Regions from separate parts of the Homo sapiens genome. Here regions 1, 3, 4, 5, 6 and 7 are each linked to region 2. Evidence: promoter capture Hi-C in 16 types of primary human blood cells and fetal thymus (Javierre and others, 2016). All regions are on one chromosome and are shown on one strand. The core of a region is centred on a gene start or on the middle of the fragment in contact, and the rest is flanking DNA. Distances in the headings are between cores, read along the strand shown. Region 1 has its middle 31 kb from the start of DORIP1. Region 2 holds the start of MIS18BP1 (MIS18 binding protein 1). Region 3 overlaps TOGARAM1 (TOG array regulator of axonemal microtubules 1). Region 4 overlaps TOGARAM1 (TOG array regulator of axonemal microtubules 1). Region 5 overlaps KLHL28 (kelch like family member 28). Region 6 has its middle 19 kb from the start of DORIP1. Region 7 overlaps KLHL28 (kelch like family member 28).

Evidence for each region. Contacts are between HindIII fragments. The CHiCAGO score rates a contact against its expected background, and 5 or more counts as called.
Region 1: a fragment that was not itself captured here is called in contact with the fragment with the promoter of MIS18BP1 in region 2 in 2 of 17 cell types (non-activated CD4 T cells and total CD4 T cells); the score reaches 7.6 in non-activated CD4 T cells.
Region 3: a contact is called between a fragment that was not itself captured here and the fragment with the promoter of MIS18BP1 in region 2, in 1 of 17 cell types (neutrophils). The highest score is 6.6, in neutrophils.
Region 4: a contact is called between a fragment that was not itself captured here and the fragment with the promoter of MIS18BP1 in region 2, in 15 of 17 cell types (monocytes, total CD4 T cells, naive CD8 T cells and 12 more). The highest score is 13.9, in monocytes.
Region 5: a contact is called between a fragment that was not itself captured here and the fragment with the promoter of MIS18BP1 in region 2, in 11 of 17 cell types (monocytes, total CD8 T cells, non-activated CD4 T cells and 8 more). The highest score is 8.4, in monocytes.
Region 6: a fragment that was not itself captured here is called in contact with the fragment with the promoter of MIS18BP1 in region 2 in 17 of 17 cell types (non-activated CD4 T cells, M2 macrophages, total CD4 T cells and 14 more); the score reaches 17.6 in non-activated CD4 T cells.
Region 7: a fragment that was not itself captured here is called in contact with the fragment with the promoter of MIS18BP1 in region 2 in 17 of 17 cell types (activated CD4 T cells, total CD4 T cells, non-activated CD4 T cells and 14 more); the score reaches 17.6 in activated CD4 T cells.

The regions. Positions count from the first base shown.
Region 1 is chr14:44,864,576-44,867,747 of GRCh38, reverse strand. It overlaps the pseudogene DOCK11P1. Among named protein-coding and RNA genes, the nearest start is that of DORIP1, 31 kb to the left of the region's middle. The HindIII fragment of the contact is 3,001 bases long and covers 1-2,912 here.
Region 2 is chr14:45,251,291-45,254,490 of GRCh38, reverse strand. MIS18BP1 (MIS18 binding protein 1) reads left to right here and starts at 1,289. Exons shown (of 17, transcript NM_018353.5): 1 at 1,289-1,456. LOC107984674 (a long non-coding RNA gene) reads right to left here and starts at 1,200. Exons shown (of 4, transcript XR_001750746.2): 1 at 850-1,200. RefSeq lists enhancers at 641-700, 771-960, 122-1,071, 981-1,160, 1,261-1,320 and 1 more. The HindIII fragment of the contact is 13,340 bases long and covers 1-3,200 here.
Region 3 is chr14:44,981,784-44,985,031 of GRCh38, reverse strand. The region is part of intron 1 of TOGARAM1 (TOG array regulator of axonemal microtubules 1); the gene reads right to left. Among named protein-coding and RNA genes, the nearest start is that of TOGARAM1, 21 kb to the right of the region's middle. The HindIII fragment of the contact is 3,843 bases long and covers 1-3,211 here.
Region 4 is chr14:44,966,373-44,969,664 of GRCh38, reverse strand. All of the region lies in intron 1 of TOGARAM1 (TOG array regulator of axonemal microtubules 1), which reads right to left. Among named protein-coding and RNA genes, the nearest start is that of TOGARAM1, 5.8 kb to the right of the region's middle. The HindIII fragment of the contact is 5,365 bases long and covers 1-3,292 here.
Region 5 is chr14:44,947,375-44,950,935 of GRCh38, reverse strand. All of the region lies in intron 1 of KLHL28 (kelch like family member 28), which reads left to right. Among named protein-coding and RNA genes, the nearest start is that of KLHL28, 13 kb to the left of the region's middle. The HindIII fragment of the contact is 2,911 bases long and covers 112-3,022 here.
Region 6 is chr14:44,914,908-44,917,954 of GRCh38, reverse strand. No RefSeq gene overlaps it. Among named protein-coding and RNA genes, the nearest start is that of DORIP1, 19 kb to the right of the region's middle. The HindIII fragment of the contact is 3,362 bases long and covers 79-3,047 here.
Region 7 is chr14:44,930,849-44,934,324 of GRCh38, reverse strand. It overlaps KLHL28 (kelch like family member 28), which reads left to right. Exons shown (of 5, transcript NM_017658.5): 3 at 1-210; 4 at 2,784-2,992. Among named protein-coding and RNA genes, the nearest start is that of KLHL28, 29 kb to the left of the region's middle. The HindIII fragment of the contact is 1,071 bases long and covers 1,544-2,614 here.

The sequences.
Region 1 (3,172 bases), core at 163-2,662, 390 kb after region 2:
CCTGGATTTGTCTTATCCAGAATGTGCAGTTTTGCTTCTAATAGATTTCTCCACTTTTATCCTTGGAGTGAATTGAATCATCTAAGGAGGAGAGGGTACAGAGGTGAGAGGAGAAATGCTGGGACTATATACCTCCTCTTCTGTTCATTGATGGTAGAGAACTCCTAGCCTGGTGATATATCCCAATTACTCCCTGATTAATGAATCTTCTGGGATTGATGGGTAAAGAACTAACAGTTTTTTGAGAACCTGGCAGTCACTGAATTATAGATTCTATGTTTGAAAATGTAGACAGACTGGAGATCTTTTGTATGAAGTCTCTATTTAAAAAGAACCTCAAGTCCAGAGCTCTATCTGAAAAAAACAGTTGTTCCTCTGCTGTCTTGGGTATTAGAGGAGCTGACATCAGCAAGATGGCAGAATATGAGTTTCTGGCACTCATCCCCTTGAAGAAACATCAATTTGAACAACCACGCATGTACAAAAATACCTTTGTAAGAGCCAAGGAATCCAGATGAGAGATTACAGCACCTGGGTAGAGCACGGATATAAGAAAAGGCATATTTAAGAGGGTAGGAAGGACAGTTTCATGTTGCCAGCATCACTGCTCCCCCAAACCTAAACAGTGCAGTGCAGAAAGAGACCCATCACATGAGGGAAAGAGAGTGTAGTGAGCAGACTTCACTGTGGATCCCAGCACCAGGTCTGGTCCAGTGAACACGGGCACAAGGCCAGCCCCTATGGTCTCAGGCTTCAGGTCAGTCCCTGCAGCCCCAGACCCAAGGCCTGCTCCAGCATCAGGCTGGCATCTGTGGTCCCAAACTCTAGGCCCATTCCTGTGGTTGGAAGGCTCCAGACCTGCCCCAGTACCAGGGAGGCCCATGGGGCAATAGCCTCCAGATCATCCCTAAAGCCATATGCTCCAATGGACTTAGAGTATAGGCTAGCTCCATTAGACACTGGCTCCAGGCCTATCCCCCAAAACCCAGTCTCCAGGCCTGCCCTCATAGTCCCAGGTACCAGGCCTGTTCCTATAGACACAGGTACTAAGCCTACCCCAAGGTATCCTGGGTAAACTGTGACACCCAGCCAGCTCCTGAGGACTCAGGAAGAGGCCCATGTCCACAGACCCAGACATCAGCCCTGCCGCAGTGCCAGGTCAGTCTGTGTGGACCCAGGCTTTGGGCTGGTCTTAGTGATCCCAGACTCCATGCCTGCTCCTTTAGGCCCAAGGGCCAAGCCAGCCCCTACAGACCCAGGCTCCAGGCTTACCACTGCAGACTCAGGCACCAGGCCCATCCACGCAGACTCAGGCCCCAGATCTTTTCCAGTAGACATAGGCAGCAGGCTGGCCCCTGTGAACTCAGACTGCAGGACTGTCTACTTGCTGACCAAGGAACAGGGCCAGCTCACTTTTCACTTATATAAAAATTAAATGATATATTAAAAAAAACAATAGCTACAATAATTTGTTAATAGATACATGACATATAAAAGATGTAAATTGGGCACAGCAGCTGAACTCTGGCAGAGTGTCAGAGGCCGTGTGGGGCTCCTTGGTGCTGGAAAAGTCCAAAGTTGTTGACCCCCTGGACTATGAGAATGTTATCGCCCAAATAAAAACCCAGATTTACAGCAACCCCCTCAGAGATCTGCTTATGTTTCCCAAGGAAGATATATCTGTCTCGGTGATGGGTCGTCAGCACAGAACGGTGCAATCCACTGTACCAGAAGACGAAAAGAGGGCCCAGAGTTTATTTGTCAAAGAGTGTATTAAAACCTGTAGCACAGATTGGCACGTGGTAAACTTTGAGACCAGAAAAAATTCCTAATCACGTATTTGAGATAGATGAAGACTGTGAGAAAGATAAGGACTTACCTGCTTTATGTTATCAGAAGGGTGGTGTGATAAAACAAGGCTGGTTGCATAAGGCAAATGTAAATAGCACCATCACAGTAACCACGAAGGTATTCAAGAGACGATATTTTTACTTGACCCAACTTCCTGAGGTTAATATATTCTCAATTCCTATAAAGATGAGAAAAATTCAAAAGAATCGAAAGGTTGCATCTACTTGGATGCCTGCATTGATGTTCAGATGATGAAACTAGTAGCCAACGAAAAGCCGATAACATCATGGCAAGTTTGGAAAGGAGCATGCATCCGGAAATGATGAAGTATGGAAGAGAAACTGAACAACTAAACAAACTCAGTAGCGGAGATGGAAGACAGAATCTCTTTTCTTTTGATTCAGAAGTTCAGAGGTTGGACTTTTCAGGAATTGAACCTGATATAAAGCCATTTGAAGAAAAGTGCAACAAACGTTTCCTGGTAAATTGCCATGATTTAACTTTCAATATCTTGGGCCAAATTGGAGACAATGCAAAAGGACCACCCACAAATGTTGAGCCCCCCACCCTTTTTTAAAATCAGTCTTGCCTTATTTGATGTAAAGAACAATTGTGAGATTTCAGCAGACTTTCATGTAGACTTGAATCCCCCATCTGTCCATGAAATGCTGTGGGGCTCTTCAATCCAACTGTGCAGTGACAGTAACCCAAAGGGCTCTTCACCTGAGTCTTTCATTCATGGAATTTCTGAATCTCAGTTATGCTACATAAAACAGGGAATTTTCTCAGTGATGAATCCACATCCTGAAATTTTTCTAGCTGCGAGAATCGAAAAGGTGCTACAGGGAAACATTACATACCATGCAGAACCCTACATCAAAAATTCTGATTCAGTAAAGACGGCCCAGAAGGTGCCCAGGACAGCTAAACAAGTGTGTAGCCATTTTGGACAATACAGAATGCCTTTTGTTAGGGCTGCCAGATCCATTTTCAAAGATACTCAAGGCTTTCTCTATCTGGATGGGAGATTTTCTTCTCTGTATAAACAAGAGTAGCAAGCTTTCAAATGAAGACGTTCTCAAGTTGCTATCAGAATATAAGAAGCCAGAAAAGACCAAACTGCAGATTATTCCTGGGCAGTTAAACATCACAATAGAATGTGTTCCTGTGGATTTATCAAATTGTATTACTTCTTCATATGTGCCTCTGAAGCCTTTTGAAAAGAATTGTCAAAATATTACTGTGGAGGTTGAAGAGTTTGTTCCAGAAATGACAAAATATTGTTATCCATTTACTATTTACGAAAACCATCTGTATGTAT
Region 2 (3,200 bases), core at 40-2,539:
TTAAAAAAAAATTACCACCTTTTCAGTAAAGCCTCTTAATGGGGAAATGTGGTATGTGACTAGAAGTTGACTAATTTTCTTAGATGGAAGTATAAAATAAAAAGAAGCTCTGTTGTCACAAATGCGGATGGGGGGAAGAGGACAGACTTCATGCAGGACTGGAGTTGGACAGGGTTCAGGGCTGAGAACACACCTTACTACCCTGGCTTCCCCTTCTCTACTTTCAAGACTGAACCAATGTGCCCTATACAAGGCGAAGAATACACCCGGTCACTCCGCGGTGGTTAGAGTGGAGATTCACTGGGTGCAGTCTAAAGCGGGACGCAGTCTGGGGGCCACCGTCACAAGCTGCTTACAGCAACCTAGAGTTGTCGAGATTAATGTTTCTGGAATGTGAAGTGACTTAAAAAAAAATTAATCACTTCCTGGCTCGGTGCGGTTGCCTGTAATCCTGGCACTTTGGGAGGCCGAGATGGAGGATCGCTTGAACCCAGGAGTTCCAGACTAGGCTGGGCAACATGGTGAGACCTCCTCTCTACAAAATAAAAATAAGCCAAGCATGGTCGCGCGCGCCTGTAGTTCCAGCTACTCGGAGGCTGAGGTGGGAAGATCCCTTGGAGTTCCAGACTGCAGTGAGCCGTTATTGCGCCACTGCACTCAGGCCTAGGCGACAGAGCGAAACCCTGTCCCCCACGCCCAAAAAATCGTATTTCCTGAGGGAACAGTTCCAACTAAACATCCCACTTTGTGCGTAACTTTACATTCAATCCATCATCACCTCAAGAACAAAATGTTCTTTCTCCGCCTCAAACATGGAGGACAGAAAAACAGAAGTTCTCTCAAACCCACCAAGCACGCTGTTTTCCTGAGACGGAAAAGAAGGATAACAGCCGCTACGGCGCACAGCCTGTAGGGGAGGACGGCAACCAGGAAAGGCCAAACTTAGCCGCAGTAGTGCCGGGGCGTGCTCGCGGCCCACGGCGTCCCACGTCGTCCCACGTCAGCCTTGTCCCGGCAGAGCTTCACGAGAGGAAAGGCGGGATTCAGGGTGGGCGCGTGCCCTACGAAGACGAAACGAACTTTGAAGACAACTAGAGGAGCTCGCCCCCTGCCTGTGACAGCTTAGGGTCGCCTACTTTTTGTGGACACACTGCCGTCCACGGAGTGCAGAGGCCGCCTGCAGTTTTCTTGCGTCCCTGTGAGACGCACGGTGGCGCAATTCCCGAGCGTGCCAATCCCGGGCTGGCTGGAGGGCGGGCTCTTCAAATTTGAATTGCGGAAGTGTTTTGTGTGTTAGAGAACGTCGCGGAGGAGGTAAGCGTCGCTTGGCGCCTGGCCGCCGCGGGCAGGATACACCGTGGGCCTGAGGCGCGAGCCCGGCGGCGTGCGGCCCTCTCTCCGCGCGGAGCCGAGCCGGAACTGCGGCAGTCTCTCCCTGCCAGGCTCTTCATCCAAGGTACGTCCTCCCCGCGCCCTCCGCTAACCTCCTACCGCGGGTCCCCGCAGATGGTGGGCGTCTGCCCTTTAAGCATCTCGGCTCACGCGGTTTTATTTATTTTTTTTGTAGATTTCTGGCTTTGGTACGGATTTTATACTTCGCACTCGATGTTTACTTGTTGCGTGTCTACTGTACTTAAGAGAGTAGAACACGATTGCTCAAATTTATTTCGATGGTGAGCGTTCTAGGTCTTTGTTCTAAAATAAATTTTTTTTTTTTTTTTTTAGAATACCAAGTGGGAAAATTGTATTCCTCAGTACCCAACTCTTCCCCTTGGGACCCCAGGACCCACAGGGCTATAGAAGCAGTTGATCATTCAGCTTATGTTTTCTTCTGGTTAAATTGCATGCTTGTTGCAAACATCTTTAGATGTTAATAAAATTATTTAGAAAATGGTCGGGCGCGGTGGCACACGCCTGTGATCCCACACTTTGGGAGGCCGAGGCGGGTGGATCTTTTGAGCTCAGGAGTTCAAGAAAATGGTAGGCCACTTCATCCTGGCCTTCAAAGATAAACACTGTTTACAATTTGGTTCACCGCTTCCAGAGTTTTTCTCTATGCCTGTATGTGTTTTATTTATTTACTTAAAAATTTTTTTAAACAAATGCAATTCTATGTTGTTACTTTCTTTTTCAATTTAATGTTTCTTGGATACTTTTCCATATAAGTACATATATATCTTTTTATTGAATACATAGAGTAAATTGTATGGATGTGGCGGGATTTATTTTGTCCTTTATTGGTAGACATCTGGGTTGTTTCATTTCATTTTATGCTGCAGTGAACTTCCCTGTGTAGTGGGTGTGTAGACTGTTGCCTGTTGGTAAATAACTGAAGCTATGGAGTCGGGTAGAATCGGTTCCTCTTTCTCACTTATTGTCAAGTGACCTTGGGCAGCTTACTTAACCACCTTATACCTTAATTTCTCTTTTTTCAAATTGGGAGTAATAACAGTACTTAACTCTTTAGAGTTGCTGTTAGATTATATAGTGGCTGGCATGTAAATATTCAGTAAATATCGGCAATTATGGTACATATATATTTGCATTCTTACGCAGATGTTTCTATAGGAAAAAACAAGTTAGAAGTGGAATTTCCGTGTCAATAGTATGCATACTTGCATTTTGAAATTAATATTTACCAATGTGATATGAAAAAGAAATCTCACTGTTTTAGTTTGCATCTCCATTTATTAGTAAAATCAGGTGTCACAACTCGTTTATTGGCCTTTTGTATTCTATTAATCACCTTTCATGTCCCATGACCATTTTCTGTTTTGTATATTTTTTAAAGTTGATTTATTAGGTCTCTTTGAATGTTATTTAAATTAGCCCTTTGTCATATGTGCTGAGTATTTTTTTCAAGTGTATCATTTGCCTGTTAACTTAAAATTCTATTTTCCCCCTAATTCTATGTCCCAGTTTTGGTTAGTGTGCTCTGGGATTTTTGACCCATTCCATAGTAATAGTTATTACTACTACCACTACAGTAAATTCTTACAAGAACTTTCCATGTTTTTTGGGAGGAGGAGGAGGAGTAGTTACATTCAGGATCATATACATAATTGTTTAGCTTCAGTTCTGTATTTATATATGTCACTTGTAACTGACTGGGATACGTTCTGAGAAATACATTCTCAGGTAATTTTTGTCATTGTGCCAATATCATAGAGTGTACTTATAAAAACCCAGGCTATATATTA
Region 3 (3,248 bases), core at 41-2,540, 270 kb after region 2:
AGAAAAAAAAAAAGATAGTTTTGGTTACATGACTTTTGGTTTTCTCTGTGTCTGACAGGAAACAAAAGTTGGTTTATTTGGGTAAAGTTGTATTTAATACATAAAGCTGACATTTTCCTAGGTACAAAAGTTACAGGGAAATAGAAATATGTATACAAGGTAATCGATATGCTTTGCCCATTATTAAGGGAACTGGTATAGCTCTTTTTTCCATTTTCTTTTTTAATTATTATTTTTAATTATTTTTATTTTTTTTAGAGATGAGGTCTCACTTTGTCACCCAGGCTGGAGTGCAGTGGCACGATCATAGCTCACTGCACACCTGAACTCCTGGGCTCTATCGATCCTTCTACGTCAGCTTCCCAAGCAGCTGGGACTACAGGCACTCACTACCACGCCCAGCTAATTTATTTGCATTTTTTTTTTTTTAGAGACAGGGTCTCGTATATTGCCCAGGCCTCAAGTGATCCTCCAGCCTCAGCCTCACAAATTGCTGGGATTCCAGGCACAAGCCACTGCCTCTAGCTGTTACAGCTTTTTTAAGATGATAACAATAAATATAATATATACATTGTCTTATTTAATATACTTTTAAGGTTAATTATGTTTAAATTTATTTAAAATTTTTGAAATTTTAGATGTTATCTAATTCCATGTTTGTATGTGTCTAAAGATATATTAACAATCACAGAAATGGTGAGTTCACAAAAATGGATATATTTTTAATATTATTATTATTATGTACCATTAAAATATTTTCCATGTCTTTAGTCTGTTTTAAATCATTTTAACCGCTTTATTTCTTCTAAAAGATATGGATATTCTCACTTTCTTACTTTGCTTTAAATACTGTTACTCTTAATAAACATTGTAACATTTATCTGTAGACACATATCTCATAATCATATGTTAAGGTAATAACAAGTTTTGTCCTATAAACTCTTTCTTAAATTCAATTTCCACATGAAAAATAAAATAGCAATTAATATTCTTATTGTTCTCCAAATTTTAATTAGTTTACCCACTATTCATGCAAGGTGACTAAAACAAATGCCTCAAAAAACTTACATACCGGTAGTAGCTTCTACATTTTCTGCTGTAAAATATCCTGTTGCCAACAGTTCATTCTACATAGCTCTGACATAAGCAACATTTACACTAAGAGTAGATATGCTTTTGTGTCGTTTATGATTTTCACAAGCATAAAAAATAAAAGTTTTTAAAACTCTTCATGCATCACAATATAATTTTAAAAAGAAAATTAAATCTTTTCAGAAACAATCCAACATCCAAGGAAAATCTCAAGTTTTAGGATTAACCCATACCAAACACATTAGTACAATTTAATAATTTTAGTTTTTCTAATTTCTTATCAAATTTGTTATATTAACTGTTCTAAATCCCACATTCTTAAAATCTCTAATGTTCTATTTTTCATTTTTAATTGCCCCTTAGTTTAACAGAATCTGGAAGCCTTGTTCTCACAAAGTGGTTCACAGACCACCAGCATCAGCAATACCTAGGAGCTTATTTGACATATAGGCTCAGGCCCCAGTTTAGACAAACTAAATCAGAATCTGTATTTTAACAAGATCCTAAGGCAATTCATTTGCATATTAAAATTTGATAAACACTGCACTAAACTCATATCTTCCTTTCTTTTGACTTAAAACACACACCCTTTCCTGCTACCTCAAAAATTTTTAATATTTTAAGTCATCTTCTCTTTGTTTTTCCTTTAACTTCAGAGAAAAAGACTTCCTCCTCTATCCCAAAGCTAACCTCTCTCTATACTTGTGTTCTTGACCCATTTAATCTTTAGTTAGGAACATATCTCCTTTCCTTTCCCTCTCCAGTATGACTGCAGAGACTGAATCTCCTGCATTTTGCATGTTTAACACCTACCATAATAAAGACACAGAGTCGGCATGTTTAATTCACAGATGGCTCCTTTCTGACTCTTCCAAATCAGGTGTTCCTTACTTAAAAATAAAGCACAGTAATAACTTATCCTGTTATATCCCTGTGCTGTTATCTTGCTTGGTCTTTTCTTTCACTGTCAAACCCTTAAATGTTTTCTTATTTAACAGGTATTTGTTGATATTTGTGGGAAGAGCACTGTAGTTAGTGCTGTTACAAAAACAAAAACTAATTAAACAAAAAAATAAAACAGTCCCTACCATCATACTGTTTACCATCATTGAGAAGAAGGAATAAATGACTCACATGTGCTAAATACTAAATGAGGCAAAAATCCTACGGCAGTGCTATAAAGAGTAGTTTATAAACTCCCACTCAGTTTTGCACAAATTAGATGATTAAAAAGACAGATGCTGAATAACTTCTTACTGCCTGTTTCCTCATCAATTCACCTCATAAACTTTTAAATTTGGTCTCCGCCTGTAACAGTCTACTAAAACTGCCCTTTTATATGTCCCAGTGACCTTCCAATAATCAATTCCTCTACCTTGAAAAAACTACAGACCTCGTGCCCACATACACATGAAGCAAGTATACTCCTTACTTTTTAGTCTAGGTTACTGACTACTATGATTCCTACCACATTGTAGTGAAATCTGTTAGGAAAAATAAAGCTAAATGGTAGCCAGCTAATGATGTCTGATTTACTTGATGCCACTAACCCATTAAAACACTCCTAAATACATAGAAAGAGATGCAAACTTGAAATATCATAGTAATCTGGTTATCAATCTGTAATATGTCAGAGCACAAAAAGAATCCACTAAATAGCAGAAACAAAAACAGAATTAAAAGTCTAAATATTCCAAAGTAAGAGATAAGTTAAACACACCACGATATTATATAATATTAAATAGCTATCAAAAATCCCATTACAGATTATTTGATGTTAAAGAAAAAAATGTTCAGGCTAGGTGCAGTGGCTTATGCCTGTAATCCCAGTACTTTGGGAGGCAGAGGTGGGAGGATCACACTGAGGCCAGGAGTTCAAGACCAGCCTGGCCAACATAGCAAAACCCCACCTCTACTGAAAATACAAAAATTAGCTAGGCGTGGTGGCGTGCCCCTGTAATCCCAGCTATTCAGGAGGCTAGGTAGGAGAATCACTTGAACCTGAGAGGTGGAGTTTGCAGTGTGCCAAGATGGCGCCACTGCACTCCAGCCTGGACAACAGAGGGAGACTCCATCTCAAAAAAAAAAAAAAAAAAAAGTAAGTGAAAAAGGGGAAGCTTTCACTGATGGATAGAAGAATCTATACCTTGTATTCA
Region 4 (3,292 bases), core at 702-3,201, 290 kb after region 2:
CCTAGAAGATAACATAGGAGAAAACCTAGATGACCTTGGGTATGGTGATGACTTTTTAGATATGATACCAAAGGCATGATCCATGCAAGAAAAAACTGATTAACTGGACTTTATTAAAACTTTAAAACTTCTGCTCTGAGAAAGTTAATGTCAAGAGAATGAGAAGACAAGACACAAAGTGGGAGAAAATATTTTCAAAAGATACATCTGATAGGCCAGGCGTGGTAGCTTGCACCTGTAATCCCAGCACTTTAGGAGGCCAAGGTGGGCAATCGCTTGAGTCCGGGAGTTCAAGACCAGCCTGGCCAACATGGTGAAATCCCGTCTCTACTAAAAATACAAAAAATTAGCCGGGCATGATGGTGTGGGCCTGTAGTCTCAGCTACTTGGGAGCCTGAGGCAGGAGAATTACTTGATCCCGGGAGGCAGAGGTTGCAGTGAGCCGAGATCGCACTGCACTCCAGCCTGGGCTGTCTCACAAAAAAAAAAAAAGAAAAGAAAGAAAAGAAAGAAAGAAAGGAAGGAAGGAAGGAAGGAAGGAAGGAAGGAAGGAAAGAAAGAAAGAAATGAGGTATCAAACCATGAAAAGACATAAAGGAAACTTAAATGCATATTACTAAGTGAAAGAAACCAATCTGAAAATGCAAGCTACTGTATAACTCCAAGTATGTGACATTCTGGAAATGACAAAACTATGGAGACAGAAAAAAAGACCACTGGTTGCTAAGGCTTGGGAATGGGGTGAGAGAGGGAAGAATGTACATGTAGAGAACAGAGAATTTAGGGCACTGAAACTATTGTTATGATACTATAATGGTGGATACAAGACATGGATACATTTGTCAAAACCCCACAGAATGTACTGAACATAAGACATGGATACATTTGCCAAAATCCCATAGAATGTACAACACAAGAGTGAATCTTAATGTAAACTATGGGCCTTGGGTGATAATTATATGTTAATATGGGTTCACTGATTATAACAAATGTACCCCTAAAGTACCGGATGAGGTGGGTCAGGTTGTTCTTGTGTGGACAGGGGTATATGGGAACTATCTGTACTCTCTGTTGAAAGTTGCTGAGAACCTAAAACTGCTTTAAAAATTAAAGTCCAGGCCGGGCGCGGTGGCTCACGCCTGTAATCCCAGCACTTTGGGAGGCCGAGGCGGGCAGATCACGAGGTCAGGAGATCGAGACCATCCTGGCTAACACGGTGAAACCCCGTCTCTACTAAAAATACTGGGCATGGTGGCGGGTGCCTGTAGTCCCAGCTACTCGGAAGGCTGAGGCAGGAGAACGGCGTGAACCCGGGAGGCGGAGCTTGCAGTGAGCCGAGATCGCGCCACTGCACTCCAGCCTGGGCGACAGAGTGAAACTCCGTCTCAAAATAAATAAATAAAAAATAAAGTCTAATAATTTAAAATATGCATGTATATATACTTTTTTTAAACTGCACACATAAAACTGTTTAGATATTTATTCCCTGTCCTCTATTAAAATAGTTCTTCTAAGACCTTTTTTGAACAAGTAATTACAACTTGATTTCTGGGTTAAGTTTTAATTACACCACAGCATCTTTCAAAAGCAAAATATGTCTATGCTGGCATTTCAGAAATGCACTTATCTTCAGATTCTTTTTGCTTTGGCCGGCACCAGAATCTTTTTAATAATATATACACTGACATCTCAGACTTGACACATGACAAGCAGTCTTAAGAGTAATGCCTTAAAAAAAATCATCACTACCAGATAATGCTTATAATACAAGGAAATAACATATAACCAGATTATATAAATCTGAAAATTATTTCCAAAAAAATCTACAAGTTTTGGGATTGAAAGGAACCATAGAGAACACTCAATTCACCTCCTCCCATCTGAGGTCTACTGCAGAAGGTTCAAACTCATTATTTGCAAGATATTATCTCCATACTTTACCCCATCTACATCTCCAGTATCATCTGCTACTTCCCACTAGGCCCCTTGTGTTTGCTGTGCAAAAATTCCCCATTCTCTTATTAATTTGCTAAGTTCTTTCACATAATCAGTGTCTCTAAACACGCTATTCCTTTAGTCTGAAATTCACTGGGACCTATCCACACTTAGCAAGCTCCTATTCATCTTTCATCATGCTGTTTGAATAATAATTACATAGATAAAAGACTTAATTTAAGAAAAGTTTGACCACAAAATTCTGACTGTGGAATAATTCTAAATACAAAAAGAACTGTAACGAAATCTTAAACTTTACTTAGTAGGTAGTTGGTTGCTGTTGCTGGTCTAGCAATTTTGTGGGGGGAGGGGGGTTACTGTAGGATACAGCATATGAATAAATATTACTGATGTTGGGTAGCAGGGATTTTATTGTGAACGAAGGGAGATTCAAATATGGAATAAAGGAAGATGAGAAAGAACCCTGCAGTACTAGTTTTGAATTGGAGGTATTAATATAAATGCATTAAAAAACAAACAAACAAAAAACAAGTACTCCTTGGTTCTGTCCACTGAAAGGGTCAAACCACAATGGCAAGAAATAGCAATGAGCAAATCTATACTCAGACTTTTGTTTTCAAATACCACTGCCCAATAAAAAGGCAGTACTAGGACTTCTGAAAAAAATGGCTGATTCCAGGTCTGAAGCAAGAAAAAAAAAACCAAAGTAAGGCTAGGCATCATGTTACTCTTGTTTTGTTTTATTTTGTTTTTGAGTCTGGGTCTCACTCTTGAGCAGGCTGGAGTGCAGTGGCACAATCATGGCTCACTGCTGCAGTCTGGAACTCCTGGGCTCAAGCAATCCTCCCACTTCAGCCTCCGAAGTAGCTGGGACTACAGGCCTGCACCACCATGCCTGGCTAAGTTTTTTTATTTTTGTAGAGATGGGGATCTCACTATGTTGCCCAGGCTGGTCTCGAACTCCTGGCCTCAAGCAATCGTCCAAATGTTATGTTAAGGAAATAATCAAAGACTAAAGAACAGTCATGTTAAAAGGACACAGGAGCCAGCCACTAGTTAAATTTGGGACAATTTTATCATGAAAAAGTTAAAAAAAATTTAGTAACAAAAAATAATATGTAATTATTACACATACAAGAAAAAAAGAATTGCAGGTAGTAAACAGAGAAGAAATGTCACAATTTTTTAAAATTACTCTTTTTGTAATTAATTTATTTTAGTATTATTATTATTTTTGAGATGCAGTCTTGCTCTGTTGCCTAGGCTGGGGTACAGTGGTGTGATCTCAGCTCACTGCAACCTCTGCTTCCTGGGTTCAAGTGATTCTTTTGCCTCA
Region 5 (3,561 bases), core at 318-2,817, 300 kb after region 2:
CTTTGGCCTGGCTTTGGTAGGTATTTGTTCCCTGGACAGTAAGCAAACTTCCTTCCTTTTTTGGTATGCATGGAAAGGCATTTCATGGATATAGTTGGCAATAACCAAGCTTTTTAAAGGTTGATGAACAGTAAAAATAAATAACGTCTACCAATTACTGAGTGCTTATGTACCAGCACATAGAAAGGCATATTTACAACTGCTTTTTATACAATTTTGTCTATTTTTTTACAAATGAGAAAACTGAAACTTTTGACTGAATTTCCCAAGGTCACATAATACAGACCATTGTATTGTAACCCGGGAAGCCTGGTACCAAAGCCCAGTCTCTTAAAACTATACTGCATATCATACAAATATATGCATGTGTGTATATTTATGTGTTGTGTGTGTACATACATGTATGTGTGTATTTACAGACCTATGTTGTGTCATTTTTGCGTGTCATATGTTGATGGTGTACCAGTTTTGAATTGGGTACACAAAAATTAGGTTAACAATATAGGATCTATCACTATGTGATTCCTAATTATATTAAAAATGAATCTAGTCAATACTTCATAACCTTGATTTGAGAATCAACAATTCTGTGATACTTGTGTTGCCCAGGGTATCAGAGAAGACAGAGTGGGTTTCTTATCTAATAGTGAGAGGTAGTGCAACATAGAAAGTTGACTACTTCTCAAGGGACAACTCGAAGAATTTACTAGTAATAACTCATATTTATTAAGAGCCTACTAAGTGATAGGCCCTATTCTGAGCCCTTTTTATGTATAAACTCGTTTAATCCTCAAAACAACCCTATATTATAATTATTATTCCTGTTGTTGTTGAGTAACCTTCATTCCTTGGTTTTTCATGTGATAACTCAGACCTCCTTTTTTCCCAGACTCAGTACCTCTGTTCCATTACCTGTAAGACATGATTTGAATTTCTGCTGTTCATCAGGTGTTACAGTCTGTTTAGATCCCTGTCAAAGGATGATACCCAAAATCTGTAGTACAGATATGGACTGACATTTGCAGAGCAAAGCAAAAATTTCTCCTCTGTAGTTCTGTATATTATAGTTCTGTTAATGCAGCTTAAACCCACATAAGTTTATGGTGTTAAAATAGTACTGCAATTAAAATCCCTAAACCTGTTAAACACGTTCTACAGATGCGTCTTTTCTCTCTTATTCTATACTTGGGTAGTTGGTTTGGAATCTGCTATAGAATTTTTACATTTATCCCTTTTAAATTTCTTCTTGTTAGATATAAGTCTTTCAGGATCCTTATTGTGTTAGTCAATGCTTTTGCTGTCCTTTGCAGCTTCATGTCATCTTCAAAGTTCAGGACATAAAATATCTTCATCTTGGCCTTACAGAATACCACTAGAAGCATCCCTCTAGGCCTCATTCCATTAAGTGGTATACTCTGGGGGGTATTTGTTCCACTAGTTGCTGATTTAGCTAACTGAACTAGCTTATATATTTTTTTAGTTTTGTTCTTTGAAAAATCATGAAGGGCATTATAAAATTATTTACTAATATCTAGTTAAATATCAAGTCTACTTTTCTGATCTACAAGTCTTCTAAATAAATTTTTAAAAAGAAACAAACCTAGTCTGTAACATGTCTTATTATTTTTAGCTCATATATCCTAATCCTAAAGATCTCTACATCTTCTTATCGGTATTCACAAGTCAAATCTTTAATAATTTGTTTTAGAATGTTATCTGAAATTAACAGAAATCTTACCATATTGTAGAATTTACTGTCTTATTTTTGAAAATAGTCTTCAGTCCTGTGGCACTGGTAATGATTCAATAATCTCATTTGCAGGCTCTTTTAAATATCTTGAAACATAATTGTTTAGTCTGAGAGAGAGATGAATTTACAAAGTGACTAGGTCTCCTTTTTCAATCCCTTCTCTTATTTTTCGCATACATTTTCCTTTTCTGTTGTTCATCCTTCACTTTTTAGTCTACCATTCTCCTTGTTAAATCAGAAAATGAGAGTTGAAAGGGGTATGTTTTACAGAGCAACACGTATAATTGAATTAATTGCATGTAAAGGGATATAGTAAATAAATGCTTATAGACGTCCAGGTAAAGTTAATTTTTGATCTTGAGTTTTGAGAATTTGAATTGGAGGAAAGGAAGATCAGAGGAGAAAGGTTATAGACAAAATCTAACGTGTGGTAAGAAAATATTTGGGAGATAGCAAGTTTTATATAGAGCTATAGTCATTACATGAGCATCATAAGAGTAAAAGGTCATTGTGGGAAAGAATGGGAATTAGTGAAAGTGGGGATATTGGGAAGTGGCAATTTAGTACAGTGAGACGTAAGTACTATATTCTTAACACCTCAAGCTGTATATTTTGTAGAACTTTATACTTTAGAGAATCACTTTCAGGTAAACTTCTGAGATAAGTGGGGTATTCTTATTTTATGAATGAAACAATTAATACTTAGATTAAGAAAGGCTGGTACCTATTATTCCACCTAATAATATAATTTAAGATTCAGATGGGACTAAAACTCATTACCTTATATTTCCAAAGTCTGTGTTCTTCACTGATATGTTTTATCTCTATCGCCTCACTGCTACCATAGTACTACTGTAGTACAATATCACTTACAGTTTATCATGTTTTTATGTACATTGTCTGATTTGATCCTCAAAAACCTCAGCTACATTAATACCTGAATAATAAAGTACAGGTATTATTATGATCTCATTCTGCAAATAAGGAAAACAAAGATTGAGAAGGTAAAGTTAACGAGGACTGCTTTCTTAACCCCATTACCTATTTTTTCTATCTACTTGCCTTTCCTGTTATTCATTCTTTACTTTTAAGTCTAGATTTTAACTTTTTCATAAAACTGAGGCTAAAAGAAGTTACATAGGTTAAAAAGATCAACACTGGAATAACTAACAGAACGTGTACAGATCTAAACTTATGCCTTCTGATTGCCATCTACTTACTAGTATATATTATGTTCTGGAAAAAAAGTACCTACTGGAAGACCCAGAAGCTTCTTGGGACTTGTTTATACCATGACTGCAATAACATTTGAGAATTTTTCTAGTAGATAGGTGTGAGATTATTTGCAGAGATCAGCAGTGGAGGCTGTTACCAGCTGGAAAGTGGCCATATTAACATAATTTATTAACTGACTTAAAATTCATTGTGAAATAAGTATGAAACAATTACGTACTTGACAAAGATAAAAATTTCAAGAGTTGGATTTTTTCCACTTAAAAATGTATAAGAATGAAGTGCTATACTCTCTCAATAGTGTTCAAAATGTTTGAATTTATAGAATTGATGGTTTTAAGATGGAAACCAAATGTACTTTTTCGTTATTGCCATAACTTGTGATTGAAATGTGAGTGAGACAGGAAGGAAATAGCTTATATTGTATACATGACCTGTATTCCTTTTGTCTACTCTAAGCAGCTGCTACAATCCATTCTGAAATATCCATGTATTAATTCTTAAGGTTACTGTAACAAATTACACAAACTCAGTTGCTTAAAACAAAACAAATGTATTCTCTCACAGTTTTGGAGGCC
Region 6 (3,047 bases), core at 510-3,009, 340 kb after region 2:
AAGGTGTCAGCTGGCCTCAGGTTCATTTTGGCTTAAACTATGTCTAACATTAAAATATAGTTAAAGAATTGAAAAGCTTCTTATGCTTTAATGCACATCAAAAGCTGATTTAAATATCTTACTGAGTAAGGCAGGACGTAAATAAGGATGGACCAATCACTTTTGTCTCTGATCAGGAAAGAAGTCTTATAAAGTATATTCTTGTGTGTGCCCTGAGAAGAGTTAAGAATTTAAATAGGCAAGGGTCCTAGAATTTTATATAGAGTAGGTGGTTCCCACTGAATAGAGGAGTATGTCTGGGAAAAGTTTTATAGCCAGATTTTAAAAGACCAATATCATATATGTCTATATATACGTATATGTGTATGTCTATATATAGATATATGTGTATATCTATATATGTCTAAGACATATAGAAATATATATCAAAGTCATATATACACACACTATATGTGTATATATACATATGTACACACACTATATACGTATATACGCACATATATGGTGTATATACGTATATACACACACACAGTGCGTGTGTGCGTGTACACACACACAGTGCGTGTGTGCGTGTACACACACACAGTGCGTGTGTGTGTGTACACAGTGTATATATGTGTGTGTACATAGTGTATATATGTGTGTGTACACAGTGTATATATGTGTGTACACACAGTGTATATGTGTGTACACACACAGTGTATATATGTGAGTGTACACACAGTGTATATATGTACACACACAGTGTATATATGTGAGTGTACACACACATAGTGTATATATGTACACACACAGTGTATATATGTGAGTGTACACACACAGTGTATATATGTATGTGTACACACACATAGTGTATATATGTGTGTATACACACACATATATAGTGTATATATGTGTGTATATACACACACATATATAGTGTATTTATGTGTGTGTATATACACACACATATATAGTGCATATATGTGTGTGTATATACACACACATATATAGTGCGTATATGTGTGTGTATATACACACATATATAGTGCGTATATGTGTGTGTATACACACATATATAGTGCGTATATGTGTGTGTATACACACATATATAGTGCGTATATGTGTGTGTATACACATATATAGTGTGTATATGTGTGTGTATATACACACATATATAGTGTGTATATGTGTGTATACACACATATATAGTGTGTATATGTGTGTATACACACACATATATAGTGTGTATATGTGTGAATACACACATATATAGTGTGTATATGTGTGTGTATACACACATATATAGTGTGTATATGTGTGTGTATACACACATATATAGTGTGTATATGTGTGTGTGTATACACACATATATAGTGTGTATGTGTGTGTGTGTACACACATATATAGTGTGTATGTGTGTGTGTGTACACACATATATAGTGTGTATATGTGTGTGTGTGTACACACATATATAGTGTGTATATGTGTGTGTGTGTACACACATATATAGTGTGTATATGTGTGTGTGTGTACACACATATATAGTGTGTATATGTGTGTGTGTGTACACACATATATAGTGTGTATATGTGTGTGTGTGTACACACATATATAGTGTGTATATGTGTGTGTGTACACACATATATAGTGTGTATGTGTGTGTGTGTGTACACACATATATAGTGTGTATGTGTGTGTGTGTGTACACACATATATAGTGTGTGTGTGTGTGTGTACACACATATATAGTGTGTATATGTGTGTGTATATACACACATATATAGTGTGTATATGTGTGTGTATATACACACATATATAGTGTGTATATGTGTATGTATACATGGTGGTATCTTAGTTCATTTGGACTGCTGTAACAAAATACCATAAACTGAGTAGCTTATAAGCAACAGAAATTATTTCCCACAGTTCTGGAGGCTGGGAAGTCCAAGATAAAGGCAGATTTGGTTTCTGGTAAGAACACTTTTTTTCTGGTTCATAGGCGTAATCTTGCTATGCCTTCACATGGTAGTAGGAGTGTGGCATCTCTCTTGGGTCTTTTTTCTAAGGGCACTAATCCCATCCAGGAGGGCTCCACTGTCATGACCTAATTGCCTTGCCCCACCTCCTAATGCCATCATTTTGGGGATGAGAGTTTCAACATATGAATTGTGGGCAGACATAAACACTGAAGACTATGGTAGGGGGATAAACAATTTTGGATAGTATCTGGTGGTTAAATGGTTAAAGATTTTGAACAGGAACAATATGGGATATTTTACCATTTGATGTCTAGGAAACTTTATTCACTTTCTCTTCAAATTTTTGCTTTGCTTTGTTCTTGCATTTTAAACTAATTCATGTATTTAACTTTTTAAAACTATTTTTACATTGTAATTTGTTCTGTGATCTTCATTTCCACAGAAATACCAGCAATGGTTTTCAGCCAACAAACTTGAAATATTTGCATAGAATTTAATTTTCTGCAACAACACTACACACTAATTTGCTGTAATTTCTTAATAAAATATTGAAAGAGGAATCCATAATGGTAATGTTACTGGGTGGGAAGTTCTTAACTGTGAATTGTCCAGGTTCTTGGCGTGTTGAACAAAGAATTGAACAAAATACACAAAGTAACAAAAGAAAGAAACAACAAAAGACAAAGCAACAAAAGAATAGAGTAATGAAAACACAGATTCATTGTAGTGAAAGTACATTCCACAGACTGGGAATGGGCTTCAAGAGGCAGCTCAAGAGTCCCGCTACTGAAATGCTCCCCAAGGTTTTTATAAAGCCAAAAGAACATGGGCAACACCCCTACATAACATTTGGAGGCCTCCAGTTGGTTACACCCTATGAAGGATTGGCCTACGACCAACCAGAGGCTGAAGTGGAGGCTTGCCCTGCAGTCAATCACAGATTGAAGCGGAAACTTCTGTCTTGTTATCACAGGAGCCAAGATGTAGCCTGTATGCTGCCTAATCTTGCCTAGAACTATCTGCGCCTGCTGTTCTTTTGCTTATGCATTAACCCTTGGTTACCCTAATTCCCTATTCTCCTGCCTC
Region 7 (3,476 bases), core at 830-3,329, 320 kb after region 2:
TCTTGGAGTAGTAGTACTTGCAGGAGAACTTTATGCCTTAGGTGGTTATGATGGACAATCTTATTTACAATCTGTAGAGAAGTACATTCCCAAAATAAGAAAATGGCAACCTGTGGCACCAATGACGACAACAAGAAGTTGTTTTGCTGCAGCGGTATTGGATGGAATGATATATGCCATTGGTGGGTATGGTCCTGCCCACATGAACAGGTATTTAACTTAATAATTAAATTGCATATGTTTATGGATTTTTAAAAGTCTCATTAGCAATGATTTCTGAGTTTTAAACAATTTGTGTGTATGAATGAACTTCCGGCATTTGGGAAACTTAATCTGCTCCATGGATATAATTGTAATTGTTTTACATGGGAATTTAATACAAACCTAACAATCAAATCCCTCTCATTAAATTTTACATTCATTCACTATAAATGGACTAGATTTTAAAACTCAGAAACCTAAAAATAAGATGAAGTTAGACAACTTTAGATTTTGTGTGGTGTGTACATCTATGTGCACAGTATGTAAATTATCTTTTATTGTATTGCTTAATAGAATAAAGAAGTAGAAATTTAATTCCTGTGTGTCTATACAATATTATAGCACATCATAAACTTAAAACCTTATTTAAATATTCCTTTCTGAATTCTTTCCTGTAATCATACATGTATCATCAGGTATTTGACTTGTGCTGGAGTTTGAATTTGTGATATCTGTATTCTGTAGTTTTATCTGAATAAAGGAGAAATATATATGAGAAAATAAAAGTATGAAGTAACTAGTTATATGAGAAATTAATCGTAATTCTGAACCTTTATTGAAAATTGATGTTCCAAAGGTTTTATCTTTGGCCAGGTGTGGTGGTTCACGCCTGTAATCCTAATACTTTGGGAGGCTGACGTGGGAGGATTGCTTGAGCCCAGGAGGTTGAGGCTGCAGTGAGCCTTGAATGCACTACTACACTCCAGCCTGAGCAACAGAGTGAGACCCTGTCTCAAAAAAAAAAAAAAAGAAAGAAAGAAAAGAAAAGATTGTATCTTTAATAGTAATTAGAGTGGTTTGTGTTATTTTGATTGTGAGTATTTTAATGACAGGGCATACAGTCAGCCCTCCATATCCACGGGTTCTACATCCACAGATCCATCCAACTGTGGATCAAAAATATTTGAAAAAATTTACAATAATAAAAAACAAAATAATACAGTATAACAGCTATTTGCATAGTATTATAAGTAATCTAGAGATGATTTAAAGTATACAAGAGGATACGTGTAGCTTATATGCAAATATTATACTGTTTTATATAAGGAACTTGAGCATCTGCAAATTTTGGTATCCTTGGGATGGGGTGGATCCTGGAACCAATCCTCTACAAATACTGAGGTTTGTTGACTGAGAAAGTGATGGCACAACAGCATTTCATCTGTAAATTTTTACTTCTATTGAAGCCAAAGTATTCCTCCTTTTATTTATTTATATTTTTTGCCCTTAGTTGAAGGAAAAATATGGGACATAGACATGCATTTCTATTCTTTGAAAAGCTTCTGCCCAAAATTTGTAAGATAAAAGGTTAAGTATTTTAAATTTGATTATCTTGAAAGTCTTGCTGCAGTGCATCAACTCTTCTTCAATGATTTTGGTCTAATGGATTCTATCCTGGAGTTCTTTCAGAAACATTACCCAGTCTCTATTATGAACTCCAGAATGGTGTCACAGCCTGTTAAATGCTTATGGTTTTTTCAGGAAATAGGTTAGGGCCAGAACAAGCCCAACAATCTTACCTCTGTGCCTTTGTGCACCTTCAGAGGAAACCATAGTCTTAAACAGCTGCTAGAATTTTCTAGGGAAGCCTTTTTGAAAATTCTGATTTAATTTGGATTCCATAATGCAGCTTAGAAATGCCACACGTTCTCTGAAACACAGTCTTGACTCAAATTCCTGAGTACTCCTAAATCACCCTGAGATAATTATGATCAGCCAGTTTGTACTATGCAATCTACAGTGATTGCTTTGCAGTAAGCCACATGAATTCTCCTGTGACGAAAAAAAATAAAGGTTTTTCTCCCCACCCCCCACCCCTCTCTTCCTCTTCTTTTCCCCTTAACTGTATAGAAGATCCTAAAAACCTCTGTATTCAAGCCAGGCATGGGGGCATGTACCTTTAGTCCTAGCTACTCAGGAGGCTGAGGCAGAAAGATCACTTTAGCCCCGGAATTTGAGGCTGCAGTGAGCTCTGATCTTGTCACTGCACTCCAGCCTAGGTGACAGAGCGAGACCTGCCTCAAAAATAAATAAATAAAATTTAGGAACAAAAAAAAAAAGTCTGTATTCAGTTAGTGGTTTTCAAAGTCACGTGCATACTCATTTGACTTTATTCTTATATGAATCCCTTCAGGTTGCACTATCCTCATTTTTGCAGGTGAGAGGAAATGACTTATTCAGGATTACACAAATCCACAGCAGTAGGGTTAAGGTTCGTTCAGCCCTAGGTATACAGAATTAGTACTTGAACCCAGGTCTTCTGACTCCAAGTTCTATGCTCTTAATATACTTTGCCGCTTGCACAATATAATGGAATAGCATATGGAATTGCACCTTGTTTACAAGGTAAGCTTTTATCTTTGCAATCTTATCAGCAAAACCTAAGCATTTGTGGCAGACTACTCTTGTTTAATATCTCTCTATTATGTGAACTTTTAAAGCTGTAGTGGGTTTTAGTTTTGCTTTGACAGGAAGAATGACACAAAAGATCTGTAAATTAAATTTTTTTTAAATATTTGCAGTGTGGAGCGTTATGATCCAAGTAAGGACTCCTGGGAGATGGTTGCATCCATGGCAGATAAAAGGATTCACTTTGGCGTGGGTGTCATGCTAGGCTTTATTTTTGTGGTGGGTGGACATAATGGAGTCTCACATTTGTCCAGCATTGAAAGATACGATCCTCATCAAAATCAGTGGACTGTGTGTAGACCAATGAAAGAACCTAGAACAGGTAATAAGAATTTATTAATTTCTAAACATGTAAGGCAATGTTTTCTATAATGATGTGCTTGCAATAATAGTTCCTTGGAATATAGCAGTAGGAATATTACTTGTCCAGAAAAAAAAAAAAAAAGACTTGTATGTGGTAAACTTGAAAGACAATTAGCTAGACAAAAGTATATAGATTTCTTTATTGTGACTTTTATATGCCAATGTGCATATTATTGTTTCTCAAACTTGCTGAATACATTTTGGGAAATGCTTATACTAGAGTGTGTATTTATAGAAGCTCCTTTTGTCCATGTAACAAATGTCATCTTTTCATATGTTACATACATACAATCCTCGGATTGTTCTGTTTTGTTTTCTATTGTATATCAGTAATCTGTATGTTCACTTTCAAATGTTCTTTCTTCCCCAGGGGGTATAGTTGATCAAAAAGGGTTGTATTTCAGAGTTCGTAGAAACAAAACAAATCCACTTTTGTGGTTTAG